Regions from separate parts of the Homo sapiens genome. Here all the other regions are linked to region 2. The links are contacts of gene promoters, found by promoter capture Hi-C in blood cells and fetal thymus (Javierre and others, 2016). All regions are on one chromosome and are shown on one strand. Each heading gives the region's core, a stretch centred on a gene start or on the middle of the fragment in contact. The rest is flanking DNA. Distances are from core to core; before and after follow the strand shown. Region 1 overlaps H3-3A (H3.3 histone A). Region 2 holds the start of SRP9 (signal recognition particle 9). Region 3 holds the start of ACBD3 (acyl-CoA binding domain containing 3).

Region 1 (2,700 bases), core at 42-2,541, 290 kb before region 2:
CAATATAAAATAGGTTACTTAAGTGACTGATGTTAATGACGTCTACATACCTTTATCAAGTATCTTGTAGGAATTTCAAGTTTTGGTCTTAACTTAAACCACAAATATCTCAAATACATAAATATCTCTAGAACAGTATTTCTCTAAGTCCTGACATGCTAGAGATTAAGATTAAATTCAATATGCTCCACATGTAAGTGGCAATCCCTAATCCCCTTTAGGAAACCACAAGGCAAATCCTGGCCCCTTTACACGTCCAGTATCACCTTTAAGCACCGTTCCCCCAATCTTGCCAATCCAATCCTATCCTCCACTCACTGCTCCTTTTACGTCTTAATGCATAATTTTTTAATACTGCCTATTCCCATCCTAGGTATTAAGCTCTCTCTACCTATATGTTTCTTCAGGACCTGAAGAGACATTTCTTTTATTCTAGGCACTGTTGTTTGAAATTGTTACTACAAATATAGACCTCTAGTCTCAAGTTCTTCTTAATGTCCTGCAGCATCCATAAACCAAACCAGAGGATTTTCTTTAAATATTGTTTTTAGTGCAATGTTTCAAAATTTTAAATGGTATAATGGAATGTGCACTAAGCCTTGGAGTCAAATAGGTTCAAATTATGGTTTTGCCATTTTCTACGTGTATGACCTTGAGCAATTTAACCTTTCTGAAGTCTCAACAGTGAAGTAACAATATCAACTACCTGACAGGCTTGTGATTAAATGATATAAGCACATGCAACAATTTGGAACTGTTCTTGGTACACAACAGGAATACAAACTCTGAGTCTTCCCACCCACCATTTTACCTGCAAAGCACCGATAGCTGCGCTCTGGAAGCGCAGATCTGTTTTAAAGTCCTGAGCAATTTCTCGCACCAGACGCTGGAAGGGAAGTTTGCGAATCAGAAGTTCAGTGGACTTCTGATAACGTCTAATTTCACGGAGCGCCACAGTACCAGGCCTTTAAAAAATTAATAAAGAAACTGTTACCAAAAACATAACTAGCACAAAAAGGTAAGTGGGCAGCTTCAAAGAAATGCAGTAATCTTTCAAAAAATAAGCCACCCAACAATTCTTCAGCTTCAGTATCAAATTTCACTGATCAACTTAAGATGTGAACATTCAAATCTAGTAACAATACCTTTAAAGCAAAAAGCATGAAATTAAAATGCATTCTTAGCAAGAAATTCATCAAAGCCCTATTTATTTTCATTTTAAAAAGTTATTCATGTATATAAACCTTGGGAAGGTATTAGCTGTCAGGCTAATGAAGAAGTTGGCTCCCCTCAATTTAGCACCACTCTCCTTCCCTACACCCTCTATTATCTTAAGAGCCCTTAAAGATGACCAACACAACCCAATGAACTTCATTTAAAAATCTGCTTGTGGCATTCAAGTTCTATTTCCCAGAATACCTCTACCCTGACTACAGTTCACCCCTCATCAACTATTAAATTTGAATACACCCGATTGTGCAGTGTTCCTTCCACGTGGAAAAGTTTTTTTTACTAAGTAATTGTCAGCAAGAAATTTACCTCTCATTCTGACTTATTTCTTCCACTGTATGAGCTTTTATTTTAGGTTAATCGTAATATTTGCGGAGGCTAAGTCTAGGCAACTTCTGCCCTCTAATGGCAGATGCCCTTAACAACACAGTGGCTCAGGTAGTTCACAATCAAAAGAGCTAATACAGAAGGAAATAAGCTAATCAAGTAAATGAGGGGGTAGGAACTTTATAAAACACCCAATCTCGATTATATTATTATTTTGCCAAAAACTAGGAAAGATAACCTCAAAAGTGTATTCAAGAAAGCAACACTTAACTATTTTTAAAGAATTACTAATAGTTAACTAAAATGTCAATATATCCCATTAACATTATCAGTGATATACGAGGTCTCCTTAGACCTCCAGGTAAGATTATGGCTTCAAAGTTAAACGTTTTCAATAAAACCTAATACTTAACTTTATATATAAATGATCATACAGTACATTTATTTAAGCAGTAGTTAAGTGTTCAAATGAAAAAAAAAAGTTTCTCTAAAGCAAAAAGTTTTCCTGTTATCCATCTTTTTGTTAAATTATGTGGATACATACAAGAGAGACTTTGTCCCATTTTTTTCCTGTTTTTTAATACCTGTAACGATGAGGTTTCTTCACCCCTCCAGTAGAGGGCGCACTCTTGCGAGCGGCTTTTGTAGCCAGTTGCTTCCTGGGTGCTTTACCACCGGTCGATTTGCGGGCAGTCTGCTTTGTACGAGCCATGGTACAGAGACCTCCTTACTTACCTACCAGCATTGAAAAATCAAAAATCACCATATGCAACTACCAAACATACAACTTTTCCTGCCACGATCACCCCCTCCCCAAATCTGGAAATTATGATCAGTATAAAAAATAATGTTCGTATTGTTATATAATTTGAAAGGGTGAAGATTACGTCTACCCAAAATCTCTTCTTGAAACAAACTAGAGTACTAGAAAATTGTTAGCAGTATCAATCACCTCTCAAAATGCCAATTCTGAGCGACAAACGGCAAAACAAAAATACCTCGAACGGCCTTTGATCCAATTTATTTAATTAAAGCAGTAATTAGAAATGTCTGTAAACATTCCATCCACAAACAAGTCAAAAGAAAAAAGGCACAAACCACTGGAAGGTCGAGTCAAATTACAGCAAAAAAAAGGTCTTACTC
Region 2 (2,700 bases), core at 13-2,512:
TTTTCTTTCTTCTCCGAGGGATACAGTCACAATACACTGGATCTATAATACCCTCCAATAATACCAGCTCCTTAAGGGTTGAACGGAATCTCATTCACCTTTGTGTCTCCCACAGAACCTAATTTAACTTGGGGTCAGTAACACGAGAGTGGGAAATGAATGCAGCATAAAAGAGATAACTGAGTTACAACAAACACAAAACAAAAGAAGCATCATACATAACCAGGTCTGAGGTTTTCAGTATAAAATCCCTTCAATATGCTGAGTTCTAAAAAGAAGCAGAACTTTTAATTAACACGAAGATGCTTCAAATAATTCTTAGACATGACAATAAAATAACCAAAACCTCAAGAGACGAAAAGTAAGACCCGAATGCTAAACTCCCATCACTTGGACTCCTTTGCTTTTTAATAATGAGCTAACCTCTGACATCCACCTCCATTATAATTTTTGTGGGGGCTAAGAATGTATTTCAGAGGTCCATGAATCCCTTAAAATTGTTTGCAAACATTTACTTATACATTTACTTATACCATTTTTCTGAGGAAAGGTGCAAATATTATTCTTATGGTCCCAAAGCCTGTGACTCCCAAAATACTAAGAACCAATATTCTGGGGGGTACAGATGCTTCCAAATTGGAATCTTTCAAGAATGTCTGAGCGGTAGTAGAAAAAACATCATCAGTTTTATATACATGAGGTACCCTTACCGCCTAGGCGGTACAGGAAAAGTGAACCAAGACAAAGGACAGGAAGCTGCAGGGGGAGGAGCCCTGGCTTCAGGGACTCGTAAAACAACCGAAGCCATAAAGGAAGCTGAGGGACTGGGGCGGGAAGATCGATTGCAGAAATGTTTAGGGCTGAGATGAACCTGGCTGTTGCCAGCTTCAGGGCCTCACTGGGCCGCTAGATCAGGGAAGAAGGGGACGAGAGAGCAGAACATTAACTTGGCAGGGTCCATTTGTGTTCATTCCCAGCACCTCCTGGGAGCGCTGGGGAAGCTCCAGGGGCCGAGTGGATGGCGGGAAGACATCCTGGGCTGGGGCCCAAAGCAGCGGCCCCGCCAGCGATTTACCTTCATAGGGTCAGCGAGGTAAAGCTTCTCGGCAGCGCGGCTGAACTCCTCCCAGGTCTGGTACTGCGGCATCGTGGCCTAGAGTGGAAAAGTAAAGAGAAGCAAGGCCTCAGAACCCGGCCCAACAAACTACCTACGTCCGGGAGTCGCCAACCGACGCGAGTCCCAGCAGCCCCAAGATGGCGGCGCCTCCTCGCACCAACGCCTCGCTCCATTGGACAGCCCCGTCCATGCTCGCCCAATGGGCAGGAGGGATGTTGTCAGGGAGTGGGCGGAGCCCAGGGCGTGTGGCTCGAGAGCTGAGCGAGACAAGCGGAGGGCACGGCAACCAATGCCGGCTGCCACAGCGCCCCCGGTAGGGCTGAATGAGTGGCGTCCGTCCCGTGGCCCTCAGGGCTGAACCGCAGCTGCCTTCAACAAAGATTAAGCGGCTCTGCGATAGTCGCTGCATATACGAGGAAGGAGGCGACAGGGCCCAGCTGTCACACAGCTTGGTGAAGAAGCCAGGAGACATAAACACAAGAGTGCAACGGAAAACTTTATATGATAAACATTTATGTCGGGTTAGTGGAGCGCGAAGGAAGAAGGATCTCTTGTGGGTGGGGGGAGACTCACAGAAGCGGTGCAAGCTCAACAGGTAGGCAAGGAAGGGCAGAACACGTAGGCCCATTTTAGATCTGCAGTGTATGTCAGATGACTGGTGTTTAGGAGATGAGGAAGAAGCCATATTATCACTTCTGCAAGGATAAAAAATCTGATCCTCCAAGCAGGAGGATCGCTTGAGCCCGGGAGTCCGAGGCTGCAGTGAGCCATGATCGCGCTACGCACCCAGCCTGGGCTTCAGAGGAAGACGCTGGCGCAAAAGTAAATAAATAAAGAAGATGGCCTGCAGGGGACACCAGGTAAAGGGTATTATATTTTGAGATGGAAAGATTTTGTGCATGTTTATAACTTTTAGAGAAGGACACATAAGAGATAGAAAAATAAAAAATACAAGAGAAAGAAGAAAGCGAGGTCTCGGGAAATATGAAGGGGAAGACCAAAGGCCCAGATGAATAAAAACAGGTGCATTATTGCCTTTGATGGGGTGAGGAGGAGGGAAAAGTCGGGTGAGGGTATAGGTGAGCATGTAGATACGAGGGCAAGAAGGTACATTTTCTTGTCACCTAAGACAGGAGACCACCTTCGTAAATAGGAAGGGTGGTTTTGGATCTTTGAGGAAGCAAGGATGGGTTTGGATCCTTGAGGAGAAGGTTTGGAAAAGCCATTGTGAGAAATGAATAAGGAAGCCTATTAGAAAAAAACAGGTGGGAAGCGGTGGTGCACACCTGCAATCCCAGCACTCTGGGAGGCTGAGGTGGGCAGATCACTTGAAGTCAGGAGTTCAAGACCACCCTGGTCAACATCGTGAAACCCCATCTCTACTAAAAATAAAAAAATTAGTTGGGCTTGGTCGTGGGTGCCTGTAATCCCAGCTACTCTACTCGGGAGGCTGAGGTAGGAGAATCTCTTGAACCCAGGAGATGGAGGATGTAGTGAGCCAAGATCGCATATCACTGCACTCCAGCCTGGGCAACAGAGCAAGACTCTGTCTCTAAAACAACAACAACAACAACAACAAAAAA
Region 3 (2,700 bases), core at 133-2,632, 410 kb before region 2:
GAGGTTTCCCAAACTGAACAATAACCCTAAAAAAGTACGTTAACAATATCAGTAATGAGTTGTGATGCTGAAATAAATTTATAAACAATTATTAAGAAACAAATTTAATCAGCCATGCTGGAGAAAAGACTGATCTTTCTCTTTTCTTTATAGAGAATTACAAAATACGCCGGGCGCGGTGGCTCTCACCTGTAATCCCAGCACTTTGGGGAGGCTGAGGCGGGCAGATCACATGAGGTCAGGAGTTTGAGACCAGCCTGGCCAACATGGGGAAACTCTGACTCTACTAAGTTTACAAAAATTAGCCGGGCGTGGTGGTGAGCACCTGTAATCCCAACTACTTGGGAGGCTGAGGCAGGAGAGTTGCTTGAACCCGGGAGGCAGAGGTTGCAGTGAACCGAATTGCACCACTACACTCCAGCCTGGGTGGCACAGCAGGACTGTCTGCAAAAAACAAAAAAAAAAAAAAAAAAAAAAAGTTACAAAATAATTGTTATAGGAAAAGGCAATCAGAAGTACGCAGCCAAAACAAAGGTGGGAAAAATGATCATAAATGGTGCTCCCAAAGTCTGGAAACACAGGTGAATATACATAATGTCGGGGGCGACTTCAATCTTTTAGAAAAAAATAGGTTTCTGGGCTCTCAGACGCCCTGTAGAAGAATATCAGGCAGTCAATGAAAATATTACGGTTATGTGTGTGATGTTTGTGGGTTTTATTAACTTTTAAAATATCATTTGTTTTTTCTTTCTCTTTCTAAATATACATTCACTTTCCTACCCTTCTGCGCGTAACTTTTTGTACTCTTTCCTAATGAGGGTCCCCACAAATTGTATGAGCTGCGCTTCCTGCAAAACCAGGATCAGCCCCGTCTGCAACCTCAAAGTCACTGAATTTCTCTGCAGTCTCAGTTTCCCCTTTTAAAAAAATTGGGAATTTGCCCTGCATTTCCTTAGAGTTGCTGTGAAGGCCAAACGAGATGGTGGTGGGCAAAAGAGCTCTGCCAACCACGCAGGCCCCTGCAAATGTGAAGGGCCTCTGACCTGGAGGGTTGGGTGCTGGCCGACCTCGTCAATCCTCCCTACTCCGACCCCCGCGCGGGGCTCCACTGACCCCGCCCCTGCTGGGCACTGACAGCCGCAGCACCGAACCGAGCGGTGGGGGTGGTAGCACCCGCCCACCTGGAGCAACTGGGATCCGAAAGGATGGGGTGCGGGGGAGGGGAGTTCGGGACCAACGGGAGTTGGGGAGCCTGAAGGGTGGTCGCTGAGCCAGGGCAACTGACGATTCCGGAGGGGGTGGGGCGCCAGGCCTCAGCCCCTCTCCCGGAGCCCTCCAGCCTCCTCAGCAGCGGAAGTTCCGGTGTCGGTAAGCGGAGGTCAGAGGTCAGCAGGAAGTCGATACGTGGCTGCCGTCTGTCCCCGCTGAGGAGGTGCAGCAGCCGGAGATGGCGGCGGTGCTGAACGCAGAGCGACTCGAGGTGTCCGTCGACGGCCTCACGCTCAGCCCGGACCCGGAGGAGCGGCCTGGGGCGGAGGGCGCCCCGCTGCTGCCGCCACCGCTGCCACCGCCCTCGCCACCTGGATCCGGTCGCGGCCCGGGCGCCTCAGGGGAGCAGCCCGAGCCCGGGGAGGCGGCGGCTGGGGGCGCGGCGGAGGAGGCGCGGCGGCTGGAGCAGCGCTGGGGTTTCGGCCTGGAGGAGTTGTACGGCCTGGCACTGCGCTTCTTCAAAGGTGAGCCGGGCCAGCCCCACCCCCGCCGCTTCTGCCCGGCCCCGGGAGCCCGGCGTGGGCTGTGGTCCCCAGGGTGACTGGACCAGACTTGCCCTCACCCACTCATACTGGGCTGTGGTGACTCAAGCGGGGTTCCCTCCTTGGGGGTACCCGAAGTTTGTCACTACCCGCTTGGCCACTAGGTCACACCCCTGACGGGCCTGCAACCTTGGTTTAGCAGTCATGTCCCGCCTCCCAGAGGTTACCGGGACATTTTACCTGATTTAGCTTCTGGGATTTCCAGGAGCCCTGGTGGAAGAATGAGCCCACTTTCTTCCAAAGGATCCCATTCTGGGATTGCCTTTTATTATTATTATTTTTTTAACTGACGCTTTTCTTTTCCTATTTCCCATGGCTTGTCACATCAGAACCCGCCGATTTTTACCCTTAGTGGAAGAAATCTGTCAAGAGGTTCCATACATAGCTTTTCCAGCCATTCTTGGGAACCATAAACTGGAACAGGACTTGATCCCCCGGCAGATTGATGTGGCAGAGAGGAGGAAGTAAAGTGTTAAGCTCATCATCCTCTCCGGCTTGTCAAACTCTTGAGGAGAGATGTCCACTATGTTCTAGTAACTTCTAGGTGGTTAAAATTTTACATTGTAAGCAATGTGCAAGAGTGAATTCTCAGAGTAAGGCCTAACAGTACCTTCTGTGCTTTTCGCATAATTAATTGTTAAATGTCTCTTGTCTTAGAGCAAGATTGTAGTGTGCGGTTTTTTTTTTTTTTAATTGGGTGATTCACTTAGTCGAATGGTGGAGAGACCAATCACATGATTTTTGTCAGTGGGAAAAACTGATGAAAGCCCGTTAGTTTGATTCTTAAAGATACTTAGTCTTGTAGGGCGAATGGACAGGGAGGGACATCAGCAAATGCAACTTTAAAAGTGGTTGCTAGGTTCCACGTACATTCCAGAGCAGCATATTT

What was found. The method cuts DNA at HindIII sites, captures the fragments that hold promoters and counts their contacts. A CHiCAGO score of 5 or more calls a contact.
Region 1: a contact is called between a fragment that was not itself captured here and the fragment with the promoter of SRP9 in region 2, in 2 of 17 cell types (naive CD4 T cells and non-activated CD4 T cells). The highest score is 5.5, in naive CD4 T cells.
Region 3: a contact is called between the fragment with the promoter of ACBD3 here and the fragment with the promoter of SRP9 in region 2, in 2 of 17 cell types (monocytes and fetal thymus). The highest score is 6.2, in monocytes.

What each region holds. Positions count from the first base shown.
Region 1 is chr1:226,063,921-226,066,620 of GRCh38, reverse strand. It overlaps H3-3A (H3.3 histone A), which reads right to left. Exons shown (of 4, transcript NM_002107.7): 2 at 2,142-2,292; 3 at 812-965. The coding sequence starts at 2,269. Among named protein-coding and RNA genes, the nearest start is that of H3-3A, 2.6 kb to the right of the region's middle. RefSeq lists an enhancer at 2,234-2,303. The HindIII fragment of the contact is 4,122 bases long and covers 1-2,700 here.
Region 2 is chr1:225,776,388-225,779,087 of GRCh38, reverse strand. SRP9 (signal recognition particle 9) reads right to left here and starts at 1,262. Exons shown (of 3, transcript NM_003133.6): 1 at 1,076-1,262. The coding sequence starts at 1,147. RefSeq lists enhancers at 923-1,292, 1,543-1,762, 1,509-2,269. The HindIII fragment of the contact is 1,703 bases long and covers 1,102-2,700 here.
Region 3 is chr1:226,185,423-226,188,122 of GRCh38, reverse strand. ACBD3 (acyl-CoA binding domain containing 3) reads left to right here and starts at 1,382. Exons shown (of 8, transcript NM_022735.4): 1 at 1,382-1,733. The coding sequence starts at 1,448. It overlaps LOC101927247 (a long non-coding RNA gene), which reads right to left and starts at 227. Exons shown (of 2, transcript XR_001738504.2): 1 at 190-227. RefSeq lists silencers at 1,481-1,775, 1,412-1,891. The HindIII fragment of the contact is 12,408 bases long and covers 1-2,700 here.